Regions from separate parts of the Homo sapiens genome. Here all the other regions are linked to region 4. The links are contacts of gene promoters, found by promoter capture Hi-C in blood cells and fetal thymus (Javierre and others, 2016). All regions are on one chromosome and are shown on one strand. The core of a region is centred on a gene start or on the middle of the fragment in contact, and the rest is flanking DNA. Distances in the headings are between cores, read along the strand shown. Region 1 overlaps MBD2 (methyl-CpG binding domain protein 2). Region 2 overlaps MBD2 (methyl-CpG binding domain protein 2). Region 3 overlaps STARD6 (StAR related lipid transfer domain containing 6). Region 4 holds the start of POLI (DNA polymerase iota).

Evidence for each region. The method cuts DNA at HindIII sites, captures the fragments that hold promoters and counts their contacts. A CHiCAGO score of 5 or more calls a contact.
Region 1: a fragment that was not itself captured here is called in contact with the fragment with the promoter of POLI in region 4 in 1 of 17 cell types (monocytes); the score reaches 6.3 in monocytes.
Region 2: a contact is called between a fragment that was not itself captured here and the fragment with the promoter of POLI in region 4, in 5 of 17 cell types (monocytes, activated CD4 T cells, neutrophils and 2 more). The highest score is 6.7, in monocytes.
Region 3: a contact is called between a fragment that was not itself captured here and the fragment with the promoter of POLI in region 4, in 2 of 17 cell types (monocytes and neutrophils). The highest score is 7.1, in monocytes.

Annotation. Positions count from the first base shown.
Region 1 is chr18:54,155,838-54,162,336 of GRCh38, reverse strand. It overlaps MBD2 (methyl-CpG binding domain protein 2), which reads left to right. Exons shown (of 7, transcript NM_003927.5): 6 at 2,434-2,572. The coding sequence ends at 2,560. Among named protein-coding and RNA genes, the nearest start is that of SNORA37, 63 kb to the left of the region's middle. The HindIII fragment of the contact is 4,102 bases long and covers 228-4,329 here.
Region 2 is chr18:54,175,036-54,181,436 of GRCh38, reverse strand. All of the region lies in intron 3 of MBD2 (methyl-CpG binding domain protein 2), which reads left to right. Among named protein-coding and RNA genes, the nearest start is that of SNORA37, 44 kb to the left of the region's middle. The HindIII fragment of the contact is 1,941 bases long and covers 2,051-3,991 here.
Region 3 is chr18:54,345,658-54,352,904 of GRCh38, reverse strand. The region is part of intron 4 of STARD6 (StAR related lipid transfer domain containing 6); the gene reads left to right. Among named protein-coding and RNA genes, the nearest start is that of STARD6, 8.6 kb to the left of the region's middle. The HindIII fragment of the contact is 6,439 bases long and covers 159-6,597 here.
Region 4 is chr18:54,265,257-54,272,358 of GRCh38, reverse strand. POLI (DNA polymerase iota) reads right to left here and starts at 2,842. Exons shown (of 10, transcript NM_007195.3): 1 at 2,698-2,842; 2 at 874-999. The coding sequence starts at 2,812. LOC124904307 (a long non-coding RNA gene) reads left to right here and starts at 2,454. Exons shown (of 2, transcript XR_007066379.1): 1 at 2,454-2,533. RefSeq lists enhancers at 2,361-2,410, 2,941-3,070, 3,331-3,480 and a silencer at 2,481-2,730. The HindIII fragment of the contact is 5,901 bases long and covers 1-5,708 here.

The DNA.
Region 1 (6,499 bases), core at 1,029-3,528, 110 kb after region 4:
CCCAACAAGATATATCTCAAGTATTTTTAGCGTATTTTATAATGTTTGCATTGATGAGTACTTTCGTTTTTTAATACTTTGTAACAAATTCTCACAAACTTTGCAGCTTAAAACAATACCCATTTATTAGCTTAAAGTTCTGTGGGGTCAGAAGTCTGGGCCTGGTATGACTGGCTTCTGTGTTTGGGTCTTAAAAGTGTCACCGGACTGTGTTCCCTTCTGAAGCTTGGGGTTCTCTTTCAAGCTCATATGGTGGTTGCAGAATTCATGCCTTGTGTTTTAGGGCTAAGGCCCCTGTTCTCTTCTTGGCTATGGGATGGTGGCTGTCTTAGCTCCTGGAAGCTGCCTGTAGTTCCTTGTCTCGTGGCTCCTCCGTGTGCCCCTTTATGCTTCTGTCAGGAAGATCCCAGCTCCACTAAGGGGTCCTATTAGGTCAGGCCCACTACAATAATCTCTCTCGATTGACTCAAAATCAGTTGATTGGTAACCTAATCATGGAGAGATATCCCATCATATTCACAAGTTCTGCTCACCCTTAAGAGGAGAGAATTATATAAAGAGTGCACGTAAGGGTGGTTTTGGGGAAGAGGGACTGTTGGGGACCATCTTACAATTCTGCCTACAGCAATGGGCAAATGATTAAATTTCAGCTCTCACAAATGTGGAAAGTAATGCTCAAGAGAGAAGAAAATCAATGGCAAATGTTAGAGTTTAAGATAAAATTCTCCATCCAAATTACTGCATATGGTGCCATTTGCTCCATTTTCTCCTTCTTCCTAATGAGGTTACTCTAGGACAGCTGTGAAGATTCTTGTACTCTTATTAGTGAGAGACTGCCAGTGAAACCAATATGTCATTTGTCATAAACTTTGAGTCACTGACCCAGAGGTGAGACTAACTGTATAAGAAATAAACAAATGTGTTCTGCTTGACCCTGCCCCATGACATGAAAATCTGTCAAATTCCAGTTTCTTTTAATATGACAGAGGCTATAGAGCTAAGACTGACCCAGTGACAGCTTCCCTCTTTTTGAAAATTCATTTAATAAGTGGAAGTCTATACCTTTTAACTCTTTGTGGTGTTTTGGAGTTTAATAAAGATATCCAAAGTTTTTGTGGGAAGCAGTACATATATGTTACCTTGACTACCTTGGACATAGTCTTATTTGGTCAAAGGGGTGTGATCTTGAGTAGACTGAATATAACTTGGCAGCTGGTTGAGCCCCTATGGAGTGAATACTCAGGGACCCTTAGGGCAATCTTCTATAGCATTGCTCCTCTACCTCTCTGCTGTCCCAGTTTTGGGAATTGCTGCAATCTGTCTTCCTCGGTTATTGGTAGAGAAAATTACTTTTTTTTTTTCAGTAGAACCCTTTGTATATTCCTTGTTGCATCTTCATCTCCCTGTCTGCATCTTTCCTTATCTCCTTTCTTCTGGTCTCAAGAGCTTTGCCCCCTTTTCTGTTCTGCTGACCCTCCCTCCTCTGCCATTGCCTTCTGTTCTTGTTCCCACTGGAATCTTTTCCTACCAGTCTTCTCTCTTCTCTTGTCTTTCTTCAACCTTTGCTTCTCTACTTGGTTCTGGATGTCAATTTCTATTTACCGAGCTTTGTTTGCTAGACACGTATTAGGAATTTATCTCTTACCATCTGGGGGATCTACTTTCTTTTCTTTTTTTTTTTTTTTTACTTTTTAAAGGTAAGTGTATACTGATAGCCTTTCTTCCTGTGCTCTAATGGTTCAGAGCCTTTTTAATGACTTGGAGTTATTAACCCTCACTTTTGAGGTTCCTTTGTAATCACCGAGACACAGAGAAACTCATGGCATGTTCTTAAGTAACTCACTTTCTTATTTGAAGAGAGGCTTTTCAGTGTCTGTCCTCGGTGTGCAGGATCATGTAGTCTTGGCTCCTTCATGCTGACCTGTTGCCTGCAGACCTCAGAATCCAGGAGAGAGCTCTCTCCTAACTAACCTAGCCGCAGAATGTCAATCAAACCCCAGCTTATCACGCCTCTGCTTCCTCCATCTTTCTCAGTGCTTCTATGAACAAGTCACTTTTCCTTTGTTATTTATGTTCCCTCCATCTTTTATTCCTGCTTCTAAGTTATTTCTAATTGTCCTTATAGGAATAAACCCAAATCTTGACACAGTTGACATTTTCAAAGTTGAAGAAAAGGTCACTGACGTCAATCTGCTCTTTCTAGAATTTCATGTGTGATGAGGGATAACTGCCTCTGTGAACATTCCTCTTTTTGGCAAGGCTCATTGGTGAGGTTTGATTTGTGTGTAGAAGCAACCTCTGCAAAAATCTGAAAAGGAAGTCTATTCTTCTTAGGAATTTAATTATTTTGAAGTAAGGATGAACTTCTGTAGCAGATTCATATTGTCATTACTTGCCAAATTCTCAGTGCCTTTTTATTCTGTTTTTAAAAAGGAAACAGGAAGAGCGAGTACAGCAAGTACGCAAGAAATTGGAAGAAGCACTGATGGCAGACATCTTGTCGCGAGCTGCTGATACAGAAGAGATGGATATTGAAATGGACAGTGGAGATGAAGCCTAAGAATATGATCAGGTAAACTGACACCAGAGAGAGTGACTTGGAACTTAAGGTGTGTTTTCTTGGCCGGACATAGTGCTTCTGCCTGTAATCCCAGCACTTGGGTGGCTGAGGCGGGCGATCAGTTGAGCTCAGTAGTTCGAGACCAGCTTGAGCAACATGGCAAAACCCCATCTCTACCCAAAATACAAAAAATTAACTGGGTGTGGTGTTGTGTGTGTGTGGTTCCAGCTACTCAGGAGGCTGAGGTGGGAGGATCACTCGAGCCTGGGAGGCAGAAATTTCAGTGAGCCAAAATTGTGCTACTGTTCTCCAACCTGGGTGACAGAGTGAAACCCCATCTCAGAAAAAAAAAAAAAGGTGTCGCTGTATTTTCTTGTTATTTTCCCTGTAGCTTCCTCAGCAGTGAATGAAAAAGCTACTCCTCTGCTCGGGTTCTGCATGTGCTGTTGTTTGTTTCTTCTCTCTGGATTGAAGGACCATATAAGTTATTGCATTCTTTTGTTCTCATACTGGGAGGACATTCACACCCCTGCAGTCACTTGCAAGGGATCTAGTCTCCTTCATTAAGACCAGGTGGAAAGCCTCTAAGGTGTCACTAGAGAAGAGCAGCAGCAGAAGAAAAGGACTTTGTCATGTAGGGAGGAACGGCCCCAGAAGAAGAAGGTGACTGTCATCTCCATCACAGTAGCATCCAGGGCATATTGCTTCCTCTTTAAAATTATGGTGGCAAAGCAGGCAAAATCTCTTTCTTTTTCTTAGATTCTCCCTAGCACAGATTTGATGCAGGGAGAACAAGAAGGACACTAAAAAGTATAATAAATACTTTACCTTAAAAAATACACATTTTTAGGCTGGGTTTGGTGGCTCATGCCTGTAATCTCAGCGCTTTGGCATGCCAAGGCAGGCGGATCACTTGAGGTCAGGAGTTTGAGACTAGCTTGGCCAACATGGTGAAACCTTGTCTCTACTAAAAATATAAAAATTAGCTGGGCGTGGTAGAATAGCTGGAATTTTGTAATTCTAGCTACTCGGGAGGCTGAGACATGAGAATTGCTTGAACCCGGGAGGCAGAGGTTGCAGTGAGCCGAGATTGTGCCACTACACTCCAGCCTGGGATGGAGTAAGACTCTGACTCAAAAAACAGCAACAAAAATGCACATTTTGATCTTATCTCAAACTCACATTCCAGGCTCATGGCTCTGTGCCATGGGCATACCTTGTCTTCAGAGGAGCACGTGCAGATCTTAAGGCTTTCTGTGACGTCTTGCTTCCCGGCTTCCATCCTGCTTTGTTTCAGCAGGCCATGTCTTCCTTTTTGGCACCCCAAAACCAATTATTTACTAGTTTCCTTTGAAGCCAAAACAGAGGGAGGGATGGGGTGCTAATATGATGTCAAGGGTCAACAGAGCCTCTCTGAGAAAGTGACATTTATGTTGAGCCTGAAAGATATATAGGAGTGAGCCAGGAGAGGTTTGGGTAAAAGTGTTCCCATTAGAAGGAACAGCAAGGAGAAACTTGGTTTCTTTAAGGAATGAAGAAATTATCCACGTGGTTGGAATGCAGTATGTCTGGGGAGGGGTGGGGGGAATGTGTGGGTGGTGAACCTAGTCACGTAGGACCTGTGGGTTGTTAGGGAGATTGATGACCACTTGAGATTGATCATGAAAATTAGCAGGAATCACTGAAGAGTCAGTAGCATGATCAGATTTGCTTCTTTACAAGAGCCCTATGGCTGCTGCATGAATACAAGGATTGGAGTAGGGAAAGCTTGGAAGCAAGGAGACCAGTTGGGATGTTGCTGCGGTAGTCTCGCAAGAGATGATGGTGGCTTTAGGAGGATGTTGACATGCCAATAGGTTGGGAGAAGAAGAGATGGGTAGATCTGAGATATAGCTGGAGAAAGAATCACGTGACCAGGTGACTGCCTGGAAGTGCGGGTGAGAGAGTGGCGAGGATGCCTCAGGGTTTTCACTTGAGCCATCACTTGAGCTGGGTGGGAGGGAACTCTGTTTGGTAGGGGAACAGGCTAAGGGTAGGGATTGCAGGGAGGGTGAGTTGAATTGTTAACACAATTATCCCCTTCCATAGTGCCTTTATCTTTCATGCCACAGCAAGACCAAAATCCAATAATACATATAATGTCTTACATTTACATGTCCATCCATGGCAGCACTCACTTCTGGGTCACAGTTTCCTGACCATACAGAATCATTTCAGGCTGGGTGTGGTGGCTCACGCCTATAATCCCAGCACTTTGGGAGGCTGAGGTGGATGGATGTCCTGAGGTCAGGAGTTTGAGACCAGCCTGGCCAACATGACGAAACCCTGTCTCTACTAAAAATACAAAAATTAGCTGGGCATGGTGGCGGGCACCTGTAATCCCAACTACTTGAGAGGCTGAGGCAGGAGAATCGCTTGAACCTGGGAGGCGGAGGTTGCAGTGAGCCGAGATCGCGCCACTGCACTACAGCCTGGGTGATAGAGTGAGACTCTGTCTCAAAAAAAAAAAAAAATCATTTCAATCCAGTTCAGTGCTGTTTTAGCTCTTTTCTCTTCCCTTATTGAAGACATGAAGATGCTGTGTTGATACTTGGATTTTGTTTTCCAAGCTGGCAAGGATGTATTTATGGGCTTTGATGAGTATACTTAATATGCTGGAAGTCTTTCAGAGGGAAGTCTGAAGTGTGTTTCTACTGTCCACGGCTGCAGCCACACCGTCTCTGGAGCACAGAGGGATCTGGATCTCACCTGATCCAGATTCTGCACTGTTGCTTCGGAATGGACTCTCAGAAAGCCCTTCTCTTCTGTCAGGGCTTTTTGGTTTTTTTCTAGACTTTTCTCATGAAATCATTTCAGATAATCAAGGGTCACCTAATTGAGGTTTTACTAGACTTCTGTTTCCTTTTTTTTTATTATTATTTTTGAGATGGAGTTTCGCTCTTGTCATCCAGGCTGGAGTACAGGGGTGCAATCTCAGCTCACTGCAACCTCTGCCTCCCGGGTTCAAGCGATTCTCCTGCCTCAGTCTCCCAAGTAGCTGGAATTACAGGTGCCTGACACCATGCCCAGTTAATTTTTTGTATTTTTTCTAGAGACGGTTTTCGCCATGTTGGGCAGGTTGGTCTTGAACTCTTGAACTCCTGACCTCAGGTGATCCACCCGTCTCAGCCTCCCAAAGTGCTGGGATTACAGCATGAGCCACTGGCCGACTTTTGCTTCCTTTACAGATTACTTTGCAGATTGACATCCAGGCTATACCCTTGTTTATGTGAGCGAGGCTGTGTTGTAGGCACTGGCACTATACTTACACAGAAGTTGGCAACTTCTCATTGCCTTGCACAAATGTGGATAATAGTAATAACAAACTAATGTTGAATGATTAGAATTTTAATCAGTTCTTTAAAAGTAGCCATTATTTTGGCATGTTAGGTAGGGAGAGATTCAAATTATTTATGTTATCTTCCCAACTTGAGAATGGCATTATTAGATCAAGCCATTAGACTTATAGATTGCGGAAGATTTAGATGTACTTCTTAATTATGAAAATTACATTTACCTTACTCAAATAACCCCATATATACCTAAAAGTTTTAATAAACTAAAGCATGACCACATGACTCAATCAGCTGTCCGTAATAACCTGTGGTATAGGTAGGACTTAGTTGGGCAAAGGGTGAGATGTGGCCATCTTCACGGGCTCATAAGAGATAACCAAGGTCCCTTCAGGTCGGCCAGCCTCATCATGCCTCAGCTCTTTCTAATCCTGCTTATTAGTAAGGTGGATGTTTATTCATTTATTTATTTGGTTAGTTAAATAACAGGCCGCAATTTACTGTGTTACTTAAATTTTACTTAAGTAAAATTTAAGAAGAAGAAGAAGATGATGACTGTAAAAACAAAGGTGTGAATATATTTAGCTATACATGAGATAGGATATCA
Region 2 (6,401 bases), core at 1,772-4,271, 91 kb after region 4:
GGAGAATGATATCTTTGACAGAAATATGGACATAATAAAGGGTAGCTCAATATTTTTTAAAAATAATAAAATATGAATTTGAGTGGTAGAAAATTTATACTCTTAAAGTAATTGTTGCATGTTGAGCTAGTAAAAGATGATGGGCTAGAGCCCAAGAGAGTCTGGAGATATGGTCAGTCTTTATGCAGGGAAGAATTGCAATTGAGACATTACATGTGAATTTTTAAAAATTAAGGAATGAGGCTAGATGCAGTGGCTCAACATCTGTAATCCCAGCACTTTGGGAGGCTGAGGCAGGCACATTTCTTGAGGCCAGGAGTTCAAAACCAACCTGGCCAACATGGTGAAAACGCATCTCTACTAAAAATGCCAAAAATTAGCCGAGCATGGTGGCGCGTGCCTGTAGTCCCAGCTTGGGAAGCTGACGCATGAGAATTGCTTGAACCCAGGAGGCAGTGGTTGCAGTGAGCCGAGATCAGGCCACTGCACTCCAGAATGAGACCCTGTCTCAAAAAAAAAAAAAAAAAAAAAAAGAAAAAGAAAAAATTAAGGAATACATAGGCTGTTGGTTCATAGTTACCAATAATTGTGTATTTTTCTAGTTCATTTTAAAAACATGACAACTGTCATGAGGGAGGATCTGTGAACTTTTTTTATTTCTCTAAGTAACATAGGAATACAGATGAAAAAATCGAATAGTGTTTTTAAAAACTACTTCTCAAAACAGTAGTTTACTACTCCAGTTAAGTCTTCTAGTCTCTGCCAGAAACATTTATTCTTAATTCTTATCATATCTCTTTATAATTATCTTCATATTTCTAATTAATATACTTGTTAGGCTGTCTTTGTTAATTTTAGCCATTATTTCTTTACTTTCCCCAAGGATAGGTGACTACATAGTTCTCTCTCTCTGCCGTCATGCTCCCAACCTAGATGTATCACAATTTTAGGTAAATAGGTTAAATAGTCAGGGTTTACGTTATTATGAATGGAAATTTTTCTGGGTAGGGTAAGTAATGCCCTGCCACTCCTTTCTGTCATAATTCTTTGTTGTTTTTAATCTTAATAACTCTATGTTAGGTTTTCTAATATAATTATAGTTAACCTTTTCTGATTTTAAAATTTCTGCCACATGCTCATCAAAAATATTTTCTTTATGCTGCTAGGATGTAAATCTGTGGGGAGAATTAATATTTTTATAATATTAAGTGTTACAGTCCACGAATCTTAGGTATTCCTCCAGTAAGCTTTTATAGTTTTCAGTCTAGTGATCTTATATATCTTTAATTGATTCTTAGATATTTGAGGTTACTGTAAATGGTGTCATTTATAAAATTTTTATTTTCTAATTATCTTTTGCTAATATTAGAAATGAATTGATTTTGTGTATTGACTCTGATTTCAGTTATCCTTCTAAATTATTAAGTCACCTATGATTCTTTTGGACTTTACATGTGAATAAACATGTCATCTGTCAATGAGAGTTTTTCTTTCTTTCCTTCTTTCTTTCTTAACAATATTTAAACCTTTGATTTTTTTGTCCTTTTTCTATTTTATTAGTTAGAACTTCCAATACAATGTTGAATAGAATTGATGGTAACAGATATTCTAGTCTCATTCGTGATGTCAGGGAACATTTTTAATGTTTCTCCATTAAATGTGATACTTGCTCTAGGCTTTTTTGTAAATATTCTTTGTCAGATTAAGGAAATTTGCTTCTCTTTCTGTTTTACTAAGAATATTTCTTATGAATGGATATTAAATTCTATCAATTATTTTCCTCTACCTAGTTAAGTGATCAAATAATGTTTATTTATTCTGTTAATAAAGTGTATCATATTGATTGGTTTATGTGATTAATTTCACTGTTTGATGTTTTTGAATGTTAAACAGATCTAGAATTCCTGGAGTAAGCCCAATGTGGTTGTAATGTATTATCATTGTTATCACTGTTTAGAGTTGCTGTTATTAGGTTTAGGATGTTTTGCCTTTATATTCATGATTGAAATTGACTTGTACTTTTCTTTTCTTGTAATTTGCTTCTCAAGCTTTAGTATCAAGGTTTTCTGGCTTTATAAAATGAGCTTGGAGGTGATCCTTCTTATAGTCTCTGGAAGAGTTTCTATAAAATTGGCATTTTTAAAAAACAAAATTTTCTTTTTGGAATAATTAATTGGGAGGTCATCTCAGCCTATTTTTTTTATGGAAAAGTTTTAACTTACAGATTCATTTTTTTTCTTTGTTTTTGAGACAAGGTCTCGCTGTATCGCTCAGGCTGGAGTGTAATGGTGTGATCACAGCTCACTGCAGCCTTGCCCTCCTGGGCTCAAGTGAGCCTCACACCTCAGCCTCTAGAGTAGCTGGGACTACAGGTGCACACCACCACGCCTGGCTAGTTTTTAAAAATTTTGTTACTTTTTGTAGGGATGGGGTCTCACTATGTTGCTCAGGCTTCAATTTTTAAAATAGATACATGGAAGAATATTCATTTTTTCTTTCTAGTTTTTTTCATGTGATTTTCTAGGAATTTGTGCATTTTATAATTTTCAAAGTTAGTGGCAAAAGATTGTTTATATATTTCTAGTAATATTTTTAATGTTTACAGTATCTATTGTGATATTCTTTTCTCTGATATTGGTAGTATCCAAATGAAAAGTGGAATGAGGTATTGGGGAGACCTTTCCTAACAAGTTTTGAACTCAGTCTGTATATGAGCTTTTCCTCATTGAAATTCAAATCCAATTCTATCAAATTTCTTTTTATAAGAAAACATTTCTTTTATAGAAGTTATTTCTTTATAATGGATTATGCCTTGTCTTATTTGACACTGTTGCCTTGAAGTAATCTTATAGTACTATTGGGATCTTTGTTTTTTTTTATGCCTGTATTTGTTTGCTATTTCTTTGCACTTTCTTTTTATTTCCAGCTTTCTGAGTCTCTTTATTTTTAAATCTGTCTCTTGCATAAACATACAGTTGAGTTTTTAAATTTGTTTTAAAATATGATCTGAAGGTCTTTTTCATAATTGGTGAGATTACCCTTACATTTATTGTTTTACAGATATGTTTAGTCCTAATTCTGTCACTGTGTTTATATACTGTTTTTAATATTTTGTGATTATTTTTTGGTATTTCTGTTTTTGTTCTGTGGTCTGGGTTTTTCATTTAAATTTATACTTCTGGTAATTTTGAGGATTTATAACCTGATTTTAATTCTAGTGGTTGATTAATGTCATATTCTAAATAGTGCATATGTACTTCTATTTCTCGATGTATTGGTATTAAAAAGGAAGAACGGCTGGGCATGGTGGCTTATGCCTGTAATCCAAGCACTTTGGGAGGCTGAGATGGGAGGACTGCTTGAGGCCATGAGTTTGAGAGCAGCCTGCCAAGAAAGTGAGACTCCATCTCTACAGGAAATTTTTTAAGAAACTAGCTGGCGCAGTGGTGTGGGCCTGTAGTTCCAGTTACTCGGGTGGCTGAGGCAGGAGGATTCCTTGAGCCCCGGAGTTGCAGGTTGCAGCGAGCTATGATCATACCCACTGCATCCCTGACTCCTGCTTGGGCAACAGAGTGATACTCTGTCTCAAAAAAAAAAAAAAAAAAAAAAGAGAGGAAAAAAAAAATAGTGCCTGTTAGTGTCCTACAGAAAGAATAGGAATTAATTTAGTGGCTCACGCCTGTAATCCCAGCATCTTGGGAGGCTGAGGCGGGCGGATAACGAGTCAGGAGATTGAGATCATCCTGGCTAACACAGTGAAACCCCCGTCCCTACTAAAATTACAAAAAATTAGCCGGGCGTGGTGGCGGGCGCCTGTAGTCCCAGCTACTCCGGAGGCCGAGGCAGGAGAATGGCGTGAACGCGGGAGGCGGAGCTTGCAGTGAGCCGAGATCGCGCCACTGCACTCCAGCCAGGGCGACAGAGCGAGACTCCGTCTCGAAAAAAAAAAAAGGAATTAATTTACACTACCGAGATTAGTTTCAAGAAAGCTTTTCTTAAGCGCACATCTTCTTATAAAGAACTAATGATAGATCCTTATCTATTAGAGATCAAAGTTCCTGCAGTCGAGTGGGTTTTGAAATCATCAGTTTATTCATTTCACAGCAGATATTGCTGATTAACAGGTGCTATATAAACAAAAAAGTCGAACATGCCCCCATCTTCATAAAACTTTGAATCTGAAAATCAACACTGAGCAAATAATTCCAAGTATACTGACATGTGACAAATATGTGAAAAGTAGTGAAGGAGCACATCTAAGTTCCTATATGAACTTGCGTATCAATAAGAAAATGATTGTAGCTTTTTCTGTGGGAGGAGCACATGAAAAATCTAGGCACCACGAATGATACTCTTATTCCATGGTCATCTTAGGATAATTGTACCTTTTCAGGCACTTGACAAGTATTGTATACCCACTGTGTGTAAGTTAGAGAGTATTCATGGCAAAATTTAGTCAAACAACTACAGCAAACGCTTACTGCACCTCTGTCTTCATCAGCCCTAAAATTTGCCCTTTGGTTTATTCATCTATCCTGTTTAGCCCAAATTATCTTTTGCCTTAACGAGAGATCACATTGTAGTTTGCACAGCCACACGAAGTAACCTTCTCCTTGGTTTATGCAATAATTTTCTTGTCATTATCTAGCTCTTTCTTCTTAGGCCACCCTGACAAAATAAGAGGGTAGCTCATACTTGATCTTTGATGTTTGCAGGCCATGGTATTTAAGTTGTTTTTGCTGACCATAACTAGACAATTCAGATACTATATGGGGCTGATTGGAAATAAAGCAGTTTAGAAACTGGACAGTGAATTTCTTCTTGGCAGGAAACACCATTCATCCACGTAGCCCTAACCCAGTGTCTTGTATATTTAGCCTTTTGAGAGTGACTAGAAAGTACACACTTTCTGGATTTTGCTTTAATCGACAATTATGTGACAAGAGTCTCTATTATGTGATTAGATTTAGTAACTGTCTTATGAAAGTAAGATATTCATTCAATTGATGGAATCCTAACATTAGAAAAAAATTCTGAGCAATTTGATAAAAGATTTGTATTCTCAAAGAACTTTCTCATATTTTATTAGTGTTTTGATAACCTGAGATAGATCTGACAGTTACTAAGACTTCTAGTTTACTAGTGAAAATATATGCAAAGAGTTTAAGTACTTTGCCCAAGCAAATCTATTTAGTGTTTGAGCCAGGATTAAAGCATTTAGCTGCCAAACCAGCGCTTTCTATCACCCTGTCCTCCCTCTACTTAGCCAAATATTCATCCCACAAACATCTGAGTGCGAATTTTGTGTCTAGCATCATGCTCTTGACAGATGTAGATTGCAGATAAAACTCTAAAAATGGTGAGATTTTTAAGGTAACTTTTGCTTCTTCTGTTTTATAAGGCATTAACACTGTTGTCCTCATATACTTTAAAAAGTATATCACATATCTTACGCATTTAAATTTTTTTCATTAGAAAAAAGAAAAGAAATGCTTGTAGTCTAAATCTTTGACAATTAATGTTAGACATTTTAATTTGTTGCTGAATAGTTGTAAAGAATACAGAAACATACAGAGAACCATCACAAAATGTCTTCAGTCCCCTGACGGCAGGCGAATGTATCAGTGAAGTAGGACAGGGGAGGCTTGAGCTAGGAATTGGATTTGGTAATTAGGTGACTGTGACCTTGGGCAAGGTCAGTGTTCATATAAATAAGAGGGGCAGAGCCTGGGTTAGAAGGAAAAGAATGAATAGAATGTGAGGAAATAAGACACAAGTTCTCTCTACTAGTGGGAGGGGAAGATAAAGATGGCTTGAGGGGGAAGCAGTGTGAATAAGGACATGTTTTAAGTTGTCAGTGTTCAAGTGCATCTGTCACTTAAAAGAAGAAGTCCCAGGGGAGGAGGGGAAAAATGGAAAATGTGAGAAGAGAAGTTGGGCAAATTGATGGGGCAAGATGAGGAGGAGGTAGAAGATGTGATCAGGAGCACAGGTGGTGGGATAACCTTAGGAGGGCAGCAGGATTCTTATTTCTCTAAAATAGGAGGAGATCTGAGGTGGAAAGGACGATGTTCATAGAGGCTCTAGACCTTCAGGCTTCACGCCTGGCTTTTCTAGTCAGTCTGAAGTTGCTCTGTAGGCTTCTTGGCTTGGGGGTTAATATTCAGCTATGGTGTCTAAAATAAACAATAAAAAACAGGAGTTTGGATATGTAGGAATTTTAGATGAACTTCCCTTAGTTTCATTATTGAAGTTCAGCATGTTCCTCTGGTCAGTTCACTTTGTTCTAATAGAGATTATAATTTCAAAAGGGAAGATGCTTTTTAAGACAATACATGAGAGCTAAAATAAGTTTTAGGTTTTTGTGTGGCTCAGTTTGGTGAATTTTCTCCAGTTTTCAT
Region 3 (7,247 bases), core at 2,129-4,628, 80 kb before region 4:
TCTTACAGATCAGACCAGTGTAGACAGCAACCTTGGCATTTTTTAAAAGCTTGGAAGTTATTTATTTAGTCTACAAGTAATTATTGAGTATTTATTTAGAGAGTGCTATACAAATGCCTAGAGCCAAAGAATAGGTTCTGTTAAGCTGTTCTAAAGCTTTACTGGAAATTTTCATCAGAGATATTTTACTCTTACATGCAAAACTAAACAATTGGTACTTTTTGCACTCACAGTTTGAGTGAAATTTATATGCACTGTATACTAGGTATTTATTGGTGCACAACAAATTATCCCATAACTTAGCTACTTAAACATTTATTATCTTATGGCTTCTCTGGATTAGGAATCCAGGAACAGCTTTGCTAGGTGCCTCTGCCTCAAGGAATCCACAAGGCTGTAATCAAGGTGTCAACAGGGCTTAGGTCTCATCTGAAGACTCAACTGAAGGAGGCTATGCTCCAAACTCACTCACATTGTTGTTGGCAAGATTCTCAAGTAGCTGGGACCACAGGCTAGTTCTTTGAAAAGAAAAAAATGGCAGACCATTAGTAAGATTAACCAAGAAAAGGAGAGAAGATCCAAATAAACTCAATTAGCAATGAAATGGGAGATATTACAGCCAATACCACAGAAATACAAAAAGATCATTCAGGGCTACTGTGAACACGTTTACATGCACAAGCTAGAAAATCTAGAGGAGATCGATAAATTCTGGGAAAAAATACAACCCTCCTAGATTAAATCAGGAAGAAATAGAAAATCTGAAAAAAAAAAACAAAAACAAGTAGCAAGATTGAAACAATAATTTTTTAAATTGCCAACAAAAAAGTCCAGAACGAGATGGATTCACAGCTGAATTTTATCAGACATTCAAAGAAAATTGGTATGATCTTACTGAAACTATTCCAAAAGATAGAGAAAGAAGGAATCCTCCATTCTATGAGGCCAGTATCACCCTAATAACAAAACCAGTAAAGGACATTAAAAAAAAAAAAAAAAAAAAAACGGACCAATATCCCTGATTAACACAAATGCAAAAATCCTCAACAAAATACTAGCTAACCTAATCCAACAGTATATCAAAAAGATAATATATACCATGATCAAATGCATTTCATACCCAGGATGTGGGGATGGTTTAACATACCCAAGTCAATAAATGTGATAGATCACATAACCAAAATTAAAAACAAAAATTTTGATCATCTCAATAGATGCAGAAAAAGCACTGGACAAAATCCAGCATCTCTTTTTGACTAAAACCCTCAACAAAATAGGCATAGAAGGAACTTACCTCAAAGAAGTAAAAGCCATCTATAACAAACCCACAGCCAACATTATGCTGAACAGGGAAAAGTTGAAAGCATTCCTCCTAAAAACTGGAACGGGAAAAGGATGCCCATTTTCACCACTTCTATTCAACATAGTACTGGAAGTCCTAGCCAGAGCAATCATGCAGATGGGTAAAGAGGAAGACAGACTGTCACTGTTGATCAGTGATATGATTGTATACCTATAAAACCCTAATGACTCATCCAAAAAGTTCCTAGATCTGATAAGTGAATAAAGTTTCAGGATAAAGTCAGTGTACACAAATCAGTAGCACTGCTATGCAGCAACAGTGACCAAGCTGAGAATGAAATAAAGAATTCAACCCCTTTTTCAACCACTGCAAAAAAAGAAATACTTAAGAATATATCTAAGCAAGATGGTGAGAGATCTCTACAAGGGAAACTGCAAAACACTGCTGAAAGAAATCACTGACACAAACAAATGGAAACACATCCCATGCTCATGGATGAGTAGAATCAGTATTGTGAAAATGACCCTACTGCCAAAACAATCTACAGATTCAATGCAATTCCCATCAAACTCCCATCATCCTTCTTCACAGAACTAGAAAAAACAATCCTAAAATTCGTATGGAACCAAAAAACAGTCCACATAGCCAAAGCAAAACTAAGCAAAAAGAATAAATCTGGAGGCACCACATTACCCAACTTCAAACTATTCTACAAGGCTCTAGTTACCAAACACCATGGGACTAGTATAAAAACAGGCACGTAGATCAATGGAACAGAATAGAGAACCCAGAAATAAAGCCAAATACCCACAGCCAACTGATCCACAACAAAGTAAACAAAAACATAAAGTGGGGAAAGGACACCCTATTCAACAAATGGTGCTGGGATAATTGGCAAGCTACATGTAGAAGAATGAAACTGGATCTTCATCTCTTACCTTTTACAAAAATGTACTCAAGATGGATCAAAGACTTAAATCTAAGACCTGAAACCATAAAAACTCTAGAAAATAACATTGGGAAAACTCTTCTAGACATTGGCTTAGGCAAAGAGTTCATGACGAAGAACTCAAAAGCAAATGCAACAAAACCAAAAATAAATAGTTGGGACCTAATTAAACTAAAAGCCTTCTGCATCGTAAAAGAAATAATCGGCAGAGGAAACAGGTAACCCACAGAATGGGAGAAAATATTCACAAACTATGCATGCAGCAAAGGACTAATACCCAGAATCTATAAGAACTCAAGCAAATCAGTAAGAAAAAAACAAATAATCCCATCAAAAAGTAGGCAAAGGACATGCGTAGACAATTCTCAAAAGAAGATATACAAATGGCCAACAAACATGAAAAAATGCTCAACATCACTAATTATCAAGGGAGTGAAAATTAAAACCAGAGTGAGATACCATCTTACCCCTGCAAGAATGGCCATAATTTAAAAATCAAAAAATAATACATTTTGGCATGGATGTGGTGAAAAGGGAACACTTTTACACTGTTGGTGGGAAGGTAAATCAGTACAACCACTATGGAAAACAGCATGGAGATTCCTTAAAGAACTAAGAGTAGAACTGCAATTTGATCCAGCAACCCCACTACTGGGTATGTATCCAGAGGAAAAGAAGTCATTATATGAAAAAGACACATGCACACACATGCTTATAGGAGCACAATTTGCAATTGCAATTATATGGAACCAATGAGTGGATAAAGAAAATGTGGTATATATAAACTATGGAACACTACTCAGTTATAAAAAGCAACAAAATAATAGCATTCACAGCAACCTGAATGGAGTTGGAGACCATTATTCTAAGTGAAGTAACTCAGGAATGGAAAACCAAACATCATCTTTTCTCACCTATAAATGAAAGCTAAGCTATGAGAACACAAAGGCATAAGAATGATATAATGGACTTTGTGGACTCCAGGGAAAGGGTGGGAGGAGGAGGATGGATAAAAGACTACACATTGGGTACAGTGTACACTGCTCAGGTGATGGGTGCACCAAAATCTCAAGAAATTACCACCACAGAATTTATCCATGTAGCCAAAAACCACCTGTTTCCCCAAAACCTATTGAAATAAGTCCAAACATTTTATCGTGATGTGCAGGTAACTATCTGGGCCCCACTTACCTCTCTGACCTCATTTCTGACCACTTCTCTTCATTGTCCCTGTGTCACAGCCACAATGGACTTCTGTTGTTTGAATGCACTGAACTTAAACCCATCTCAGAGCCTTCTTAGTTGCTCTCCTCTTGCCTGGCAAGCTATTCCCCCAAATGTTTCCAAGGCTAATGTCATTTTTATGTTCAAGATGTCAGTTTCATTATCTCCTCTTCAGAATGACCTTCCTAGCCACGTGGCCAAAGTTCCCAAATACACACACTAAACCTCTATTTACTACATTGTTCTGCTATTATCTTCTTCATAGCACTTCACTATATGAAATTTATCTTCTTTGTTTTCTTACGTATTATATGTCTCTCATATTAGAATATAAACTTGATGAGGATACTAACTTTAATAGGCACCAGACTAGAAATAAATCACTGCATTCATTGCAGTATCCCTAGCACAAGAACAGTGTCTCTCACCAAGACACTTAATAAATATTGAATGAATTTATGGACTTCAGTTATATTATATTGGCTACCAAATGGGAAGTTATATATCTTATAACTGCAGTACAAAAAAATAAACTCAAGATAATTTTTCAACACTTATGCCTTTTCTTAATAATTTGCTACTCAAAAAGGGCCTTTTGTGGTTAGCTTTAAGCATTTGCCTGGAAGAGAAGCAGTTCTTTGGTTGGAATTTCGTTCCTTTCTGCTCTTAAGGGATGAAATACAGACCTACCAGCACATAGGTCTACACATTTCTCTCAGTGTTAGAAGCAGTGAACAGTAATGTCCTACTATATGTCAGGCACCATGCTAAATACTTTTCTTTCATTTTCTAAATATATTTCTCATATTTCCCACAATGTAAGCACTGTTATTATCCCCATTTTACAAATGAATAAGGGCCTATGTAAGTTACTATCTCCAAGTCACCTAACTAGTGTTAGTGAGACAAAAACTTAGACACCAAGACTTTACCTCAAAGGCTGTACTTTCTTAATCATTATTCTCTCTGACCTCATCAAAACTGTCAAGATGTATCTGTGGAATAATGAAGGCAGATTATCCAGAGATGGATTCTGGCAGAATGTACCTTTTCTGCCTTTAGGCATTTCATGCTTGTTTAGGATACTACTTTCTCCTCCATTGTCGTTACTACTTATTACCACCATCATTACCACCACTACATTTAATCCTCTATTCTACCTTCTGAGGCAGACATGTGAGACAGTTTGTAAGTTTTATAAATTAAAGCATTCAGGTTTAAACAGGTTGTATTAGTTCATTTTCACGCTGCTGATAAAGACATACCTGAGACTGGGCAGTTTACAAAAGAAAGAGGTTTAATGGACTCAGTTCCATGTAGCTGGGGAGGTCTCACAATCATAGCAGAAGATGAAAGTCATTCTTACATGGCAGCAGACAAGAGAGAATTGAGAGACAAGTGAAAAGGGAAACCCCTTATAAAAAACATCAGATCTCATGAGACTTATTCACTACCACGAGAACAATATGGGGGAAACCGCCTCCATGATTCAATTATCTTCCACCAGGTCTCTCCTACAACACCTGGGAATTATGAGAGCTACAATTCAAGATGAGATTTGGGTGGGGATACAGAACCAACCCATATCACAGGTTAAACATTTTTTAAAGTAACAAATGTAATTAATAAAGTTGCTGTGACCAAAATAAAGAGTTCTAACAGCTCAGGATTCATCCTGGTTCTACATAATGTGTAGATATATTTGGAGGAACAATGAAAAACACCCCAGTTTAGTATCTTCATAAACCTGGTTCAATATCTTCCTAAACTTAACATTTTTCTTAACTACAAAAATAATTCAGATATTATTAATATAATAATTTGGAAAGCGTTGTTCAAACTCTGCTGCCATTCCATTTTATGAAAAACTTAAGGAATGAAAAGTTATGTTATTCAGTGATGAATATTGTAGTACTATTTTTAAAATAGAATTTGGGGTTTATATTAGGTCATTTCACACAATTCTCTTTCACAAATAAAAAATTGGTAACATCAGTATCCATCAATAACTCCACAACCATTAACATCAGCTGGTTTATAGTTAATGCTGGGTGTGGGCAGAGCAGGAAATTAGGAAATATATTTATAATGAGTAAATACAAGTTGAGAATAAAAGATATGATAACAAAATAATTGCTAAAGACTAGTTTATAAAATACGTTATTGAATCATCTTATTTTGGTTTGCAGTTTAGAGCAAGTTACTTAGATAAAATATAGGTTCTCTACCTACTCAAGAGACATTAAGAATTTTTGTTGTAATTGTTTTTATGCAATAGATTAGATGAGAAATAAATTTAATGTCATTCTCTAATTCAGAAAAAAAGGACTTGTGGAACTAATTCATTTTTAACAATTTTATTGAGATAATTTATGTACCCTAAATTTCACCTACTTTAAGTGTACAACTCAGTGATTGTTAGTATATATACAGAGTTGTACCAGGATCACCATAATTTCATTTAGAACATTCTCCTCCCCAAAAAAGAAACTTGTGCCTACTAGCATTTACTTCCCATTATCCGATTCACCCCAGCCCCAGGCGACTAGGTGACAGTTTCTGCCTTTTATATTTGCCTATTCTGGACATGTCATAAAGGAGATCACATGCTATGTGGTCTTTTGTGACTTGCTTCTTTCACAAATTCTTTTATCATGTTTTTGAGGTTTACCCATGTTGTAGCTTGTGTCAGTACCTCATTTCTTTTTATTGAAGAATAATGTTCTATGGTACGGATATGCCACATTTTATCTATTCGTCAGTTAATATATACTTAGTTTCTATCTTTTAGGTATTATAAATAATGCTGTTATGAAATTTGTGTACAAATTTTTGTGTGGACATATATTTTTATTTCTCTTGGCTATAGATCTAGGACTGGAATTGCTGGATCATATGGCAATTCTATGTTTAATATTTTGAAGAACTACTAGATCATTTTAGAGACTGGCCGCACCGTTTTATATTCCTAACAGCAGTGTATGTAGGTTCCAATTTCTCCACCTCTTCAGCAACATTTTTCATATCTGTCTTCTTGATTATAGCTATCCTAGTTGGGTATGTAGTGGTATCTCATTGTGGATTTGATTTACATGTCCTTAATGACTTGTGACCATAAGCTTCTTCTTACGTGCATATTGACCATTCATATATCTTCTTTAGATAAATATTTATCCAAACTCTTTTTTAAAAAATTGAATTTCTTTTTATCGTTGAGTTGGAAGAGTTATTTATACACTGTGGATACTAGTTTAGTATCACATATATGATTTGCGACTATTTTCTCCCATTCTGTAGGTTGTCTTCTCACTCTCTTGATGGTATCCTTTGAAGCACAATTTTTAAAAATTTTCTTGAAGTTCAATTTATCCGTCTTCTGTTGTGTTACTTGTGTTGCTGGTGCTGAATCCAAGAAATAATTGGCTGACCCAAGGTCACAAAGATTTATCCCTAAGAATTTATGGTTTTATTTCTTACATGTAGGTCTGTTGTGATCACTTTGAGTTAATTTTCTGTATGGTGTGAGGCAGGAGTCCAATTCAATCTTTGCATGTAAATATCCAATTGTCCCAGCACTATTTGTTGGAGATTCTTCTTTCCCCATTACATTGTCTGGGCTCCTTTGTCAAAAATCAATTGACCATATACATTAGGAGTTTCCTTTGGATGCTTAATTATATTCAGTTGATCTCTCTGTCTGTCCTTATGCCAATACCACACAACCTTCACTACTATAGCCTTTTAGTAAGTTTTGAAATTAAGAAGTGTGAG
Region 4 (7,102 bases), core at 1,593-4,092:
CAGAACATCTTATAACACAGTGCTACTACTCAGAAATGCCTTCAGGAGAAAAAACTTAGGTCCCCTGATTCTAACTCCTTGGCACCCTTAGAAAAGTTTTAAGATCCTAGACTCACCTTGGCGTAGCAAAAACTAGTCATCCCTTTGTTCTTCAGTAAATCAGCTAGGCTGGATTGGGATTTATTAAGCCAAAGTGGGCACAAGAGGGTAGCAGCAAGTGAACCAAAAATGTTCTTTATGCTTACACTAAAAGAGGAATCTTTCCTGCATGCATGAAAGAAAATCTCTTTATCTTTCTCAATTTAAAATATGAATAATAAAAATGATAAAACAAGCTAGCATATCAACAAATATCCAATATAAAATTTATTTTGGCTTTTATTTAAAAAGATGCTTATGTTTTTACGGCAAGTTTGCTGTCTTAATAATACTTAGGTTTATGTTCAAAATCCAACTAGTTAGTTAGATGTTACACAATTTAAGAGATAATTTCAGAAAGGGGAGGACAGACGAACACTTCCACTAAAATGTAATAAGAGGCTGTTTTTGAGAACAAAGCCTGTAAAATTTCAAATAGTGAGAAAAAGAAATCTGACCAGCAAACTAAGCTACTAACCAGCACAGAAAAGTAACATTTATTCTGCTTTCTCTTCATTTGTTCTGCCGACTACACTATTCTCAGATTCACCACTTATTAAATGAGGCTTGTAAAATTTACACTTGGTAGTGAAGCAAAAATGACCAGCTATAAAGCACTGTAAGAACTGCTTCCAAAATCTTTCTTAATAAGGTTAATAAATCAGTATATAATGAGCATGATGAGTTGCTAATCTAATCATTATGCAATTAAAAATATTATAAATCTACAGTTACCTAAAGGTTTGTCTTTTAGCTCTGGATTTGAGATCATTTCTACTTGTGCATAAAAGCAATCCAGATCCACATGTACTATGACTCTGGATGAAGCATTTGGTGTGGGCAACACTTGATCATGAACTCCTGCACAATATGCAAAGAAATAAAAAGAAATTCAGGCTGCTTATTATCTCTGAGCAACTGACAGTTCCTTAAAACATGGTACCTGTGAAGGAAGAATGCAGAGTGACGTGTTTTCTCCTGGATTATGTGTGAAAGCATCGAAAAATTACAAAGACATGAAACTCCACTTAGGGTAGGGTCTTCAGTCCTCTTAATTACTGTTTGTGCACTGCGTTTTTCTCAGGATAGTAATAAGTTTGAAGGGAAAAAATGTGATAAATAATGGATGATGAAAGAGCTAATACTATCACCTGGAAGTTTATAGTAGCTCTTAGTGTAAACCAGAAGGGGCAGAAAAGTTGAAATGACGTTGATTTTCACACAGCTTGAAAATTATTCTAAGCAGCATGCCCTTACATTTAAAACAAACAAACCAACAAAAACTGAAATACAAAATGGCAAAAGACAACCAGTGGGTACAAGTGTGGGCTATTTTTAGCTCCCATGGCAGCAGGATTATCTGGTTTAATGCTAAATCGCCAGTGCCTAAAACAGTGTCTAGGACATAACAGACCACCAATAAATATTCACTAAATTGAAAGACTGAATAGTTCTTTGATTTTAAAAAGTTGTTAGGTCATTATTTGTCGGGGAGGGAATGACAGAGGCGACTCCTTCTCTCAACACTGGCTAAAAACAAGACAGGCAAAATACAATACAATATTCTGGTTGGGATCCTGGAACAGAAAATGAACGTTAGCAGAAAAACTGGTAGAATATTAATAAAGCGTGTAGTTCAATTAATAGTATTATACCAATGTTAATTTCCTAGTTTTGACAAATGTACTGAGTTTATGTTAACACTAGGGGGATCTAGCTCTGCAACTTTCAGGTAAACCTAAAGTTCCAAAATTTAAAAGGCCAGGCACGATGGCTAACTACTGTAATCCCAATACTTTTCGAAGCTGAGGTGGAAGGATCGCTTGTGGCTGGAGTTTGAGACCAGCCTGGACAACACAGCTACACCTGATCTAAAAAAATCTGAAAATCAGCCAGGTGTGGTGGCACGTGCCTGCTGTCCCAGCTACTCGGGACGGAGAGGCTGGGGCGGAGGATCACTTGAGCCCAGGGGTTCGAGGCTGCAGGGAGACCTTGTCTCTAAATTAATGAATGAAACAAAACCAGCAGGAAATGAGAACCGGTGCCTTTACATCCAGGCCCTGAGGTGGGCGGTACAAGGTAAAGACCAGAGCTGGAAGTGGGTCACCGGAGACGTGACCACAGCGGACCTGACTCCGCCTAGGTTCTGAGCCATCCCTTCCTGCCAGGACTGAGATCCGGGTCCCACCTTCTGCCAAATGAGCGACAAGGTCCTCAACTTCTCCAAAGTTAAAAGGCCCAGAAGCCTCTGCAGTTTTCGTCGGGCTGGCTGAGGGATTCCCGCCCCACCTCGCCCCTCACAGAGGAAAGGACGGCGCAGATAAACCCTCGACACGTATTTGTAGTGTGGACGCGCCCCACCCTACTCCTGCTGGGTGAAGCCATTCCTCTAGAGGTACCCGCCGCGTAACACAAGGCAGAGGGAGGCAGCCCTCTCTTAGAGGAGCCGAGTGGGGCGGGGACGGTCGCGCCCCAGTGGCCGCCGCCCCGAGCGTCCGCCTGCCCCACCCTTCTCATTTACACCCAAGGAGGCCGCTGGCTCCTCTGGCTGCGGCGCACCCTGCGAGCTGGCTGCCGCCCCCACGTCCGCCAGTTCCATGGCCCAGGCCTCGGCGTCTTCCTCGTCGTCGTCGCCGCCGCCTTCCTCCTCCGGCTCCACCCCCAGCTTCTCCATCCCGCCGCTGCCAACCGCAGCGCTACTTCCGGCCGCTTCCGCCTGGTCTCCAGGGAAACCGGGGGACTACAGTCTCCAGTCGCTCTGTGCCTCTCGCCTGCGCAGTCGTGGCCGACCAGCCTGTTGCCCAGAGTGACACGCATGCCAAGGAATCGTGGAGGCCCACGTGCGGGAGTTTTTTCCCGCCGGGTGGAGGCCGGAAGCGGAGAGATTGAAAGCACAAATGGCTATTTTTTTTTTTTTTGAGACGGAGTTTCGTTCTTGTTGCTCAGGCTGGAGTGGGCAACAGTGACGCAATACCGGCTCACTGCAACCTCTGCCTCCCGGATTCAAGCGATTCTCCTGCCTCAGCCTCCCAAGTAGCTGGGATTAACAGGCATGCGCCATCACGCCCAGCTAATTTTTTTGTATTTAGTAGAGACGAGGTTTCACCATGTTGGTCAGGCTGGTTTCGAACTCCTGTCCTCAGGTGATCCACCCTCCTAGGCCTCCCAAAGTGTTGAGATCACAGGCATGAGCCACTGCGCCTGGCCTTTTTTTTTTTTTCTTGAAGGCTTTGGAGTTAGGCCCACATCACAAATTTTAGCGTTTTGTCTTTGTTCCATTCGGCTGTTAGCAAACTTGCAAATCCCTAGACCTGAGTGATTAATGTGATGGGGTGGGAAGGAGTGTAACTGATAGTAAAGACACAGGTGGCCTTGTAAACTCATATGATTAGCAACTATGTTAAGGTTTGCTGTGTTTTGTTTGTTGTTGTTTTATTTAAAGACACTGTGACGAATTCAACCACAGAATTTTTAACATCAAAACTGAATAGGATTTGATACATGAGTGTTGTAGTCAGACAAAATCTCCAATCCAGACCCTCCATCATGCTGTGTGACTTTGGGCAGGTTACATAACTGCTGTGAGCCTCAGTTGCTCTACTCTTAAAAAAAAAAAAAAGTATTGAGATTGAATGAATGGATAAAAGCTACCATATACTGTAATATCCTAATGTATATAAAACATGTGGCACATAGGAAGTGCTCAGTAAATGTCTATTCTCCTTGCCTTCTATTAGGATACCATGTGTGCATGTGTGTGTTGGTGTGTGTATGTGTATGTTTTACAATAGAGGAAATTTGGAAATTCCTCCATGCCTGTATGTATGTATATACACTATATCTGTATAAATACCCAAATTAACACATATGTTTGGTTTTTTATATGATTCTACTTCTTATCAAATAAAATATTAGAACCTTGAGAAACCCTTTAAAGCAGCCATTCCCAACCTTTTTGGCACCAGGGGCTGGTTTCATGGAAGACAATTTTTCCACAGACAGAAGGGAGGGGGATGGTTTTGGGATGATCCAAGTGCGTTACATTTGTTGTGCACTTTATTTCTATTATTATTACATTTTAATAGATAATGAGGTAGAATCAGTGGGAGCCCTGAGCGTGTTTTCCTGCAACTAGACTGTCCCATCTGGGGTGATGGGAGATAGTGATAGATCATCAGGCATTAGATTCTCATAAGAAGCATGCAACCTAGATCCCTCGCATGCGAGTTCACAGTAGCGTTCAGGCTCCTGTGAGAATCTAATGCCGCTGCTGATCTGACAAGAAGCAGTGCTCAGGCAGTCATGCCAGTAGTGGAGAGTGGCTGTGAATACAGATGAAGCTGCACTCCCGGGCCCGCTACTCACCTCCTGCTATGCGGCATGGTTCTTAACAGGCCAGGGACTGGTTCTGGTCCATGGCCTGGGGACTGGGGACCCCTGCTTTAAAGGATATGTTGATGCATCCATGAAGAAAAGGGAATAACAAGCAGAGCTGGGTCTCAGTGGTTTGGAAACAAAATCTTCCTCTTTGCATATTTAATTCTTAGATGTCTGGACCAGTTCTTTCAAAGTCTGCTATCTAGGTTATAAATTACCTGTTCAGAGAGCTAGGCTGCTATCTTTGTGAAAGCTGTTTGATAAGTCTAGATAGTTGTTTGGTGGTTTTTCATTTTATTTAGTTATTTATTTATTTATTTTGAGACAGAGTCTCAGTCTGTCTCCCAGGTTGGAGTGCAGTGGTGCGATCTGGGCTCACTGCAACCTCTGCCTCCTGGGTTCAAACAATTCTCCTGCCTCAGCCACCTGAGTAGCTGTGATTACAGGCGTGTGCCACCATACCCAGCTAATTTTTGTATTTTCAGTAGAGACAGGGTTTCACCATGTTGGCCAGGCTGGTTTCCAACTCCTGACCTCAAGTGATCCGCCCGCCTTGGCCTCCCAAAGTGTTAGGACTACAGGCATGAGCCACCGCGACCCAGCCTACATAGAGAGCTTTTGAATTGAGTGTCTCTTTGTCCACTAAGTGCTTCTTGGACAACATTCAGTGGTCTGATTACTAATAGACAACCAAAGTTTGTTTTTCTTTTCATTCTTCCAGATAGAAAATGATATAAACACTAAAATACTATGGCAGATGAAAACGGTCTCTCTAGAAGAGCCCTAGGCTCACTAACATTCAACATGTTGCTTAAGTGAGACAGTGTTAAAAAACAATGCACGTAATCAAGCCCTCTTTAGTTAGTTGCATTTATTTCCCCATCCGTTGTTTAATTTGAAGAGTGGCTTTTAATTTCGTGAAAGGATAGAAAAGTAGACCCTTGGAAATCCTAGGGGAGCAAGCAGGGCTGGCTTGATGAGTATGTGACGTAGGCAGTCACATAGGGCTCAACACTTGATTTCATATTCTGCTCTTGTCTTGAAATTCTTAATTTTTTAACAAGGAAGCCCCATATTTTCATTTTGCCCTGGACCCCAGAAAGTATTTAGCAAGTGCTGGAAATAAAGAAGAGAAGCAGCACTAAAAAGGACACTCATAAAACACCTGTATATCAAGCACAGGGCTAAAAGCTTGAAACAGGTCATTTCATTCAATATAATAGCCCTAGAGGGTAGATGTCAGCATCCTCATTTTACCAAAGATGAAATAGCCTAGGAGAGATTAACATGCTTGCTCAAGGCTATGAATCTAGTAATGGCAGATCCACTTTTCAGAATTTTCCACAGTGAAGAATTCATTAATAATGTTTTCTCCATATAGGAAATCAATTAGCTCTGACCATTTTCCTCACTGCTTCAAACACCAGACGGCTGGTAGTGGGGAGAATAAACATCCCTCAAAGGTATTAAGAGGCACGAAAATAAAATTTATATAAGCTAACGTGTCTCATTGTTTTGGAATGTTTTAGGAAAAAAGGATTTTGGGGTTTGATTCTAAAAATCCCTACTCCCAGTTTTAATTAATAGGATCTAATCTAGAATAACTTCAGGAAATAGCTGTCTTGAGCTTGGGTCATAACTGTATATTTAAGTGCCAAATGAAGAAAACAATTTCAAGGCAGAATAGACATAGTTAATTAAATAATATTATGGTCAAACAAAATTTATGGAGGAGCATGGATTTACAGAGCGTGGCTAGTGGATAAAGAAGCTGGAGGCATTTTAGAGCTTCAGAAGTCAAGACATGCCAACACGGTGGCTCACATCTGTAATCCCAGCTACTCAGGAGGCTGAGGCAGGAGGATTGCTTGAAGCCAGGAGTTTGAAGCTTCAGTCATGTATGATTATGCCACTGCACTCCAGCCTGGGCAACAGAGCGAGACTCCATCTCCAAAAAGAAACAAAGAAAGAAAGTCAGCACATTATGAACTTAAATACATTTAAAAGGATAAGCATGAACTCCCATGTCAGTGGAGGGTAGGAAATAGGCATCAGTGGTTACTTCTCTCCTCTTAGCCAAATTGGCCACATATGGCTCAGAGGAAGAACACTAGACAATGTTCAAGGTATTTCATATGAAGAATGTGAGGGTGTTTGTGTCTGTATTTTATGTTGGTGGGTGGCTAAGTGGGTAGAGTTGACCATGGAGTTAAAGGAGCAATTTGAATTGGCAAAGGCACAGAGGATTTGATTTTGTGAGGTCTTTGGCCTAACGCAATCGTTCTCAAGCAAGCTGATTTTGTTCCCTAGTGAATATTTGGCAGTGTCTGGAGATATTTTAGGTGGTCACATCTCTGTGTTGGAGCTCTGTGCTACTGGCATCTAATGGGTAGGGGCCAGGGATATTGCTGAACATCCTGCAGTGCAAAGACAAACCTTTATGACAAAGAATTATTCATCCCAAAGTGTCAATTGGTCCGTGGTTGGGATACCAGTAGTGTCTACACCACCTTGCTCCCAACTAGCCTCTTCAGATTAGGGTCTCCAGTTGTAATGAAGAATTGGTCTTCAGTTACGTGCTTTTAAT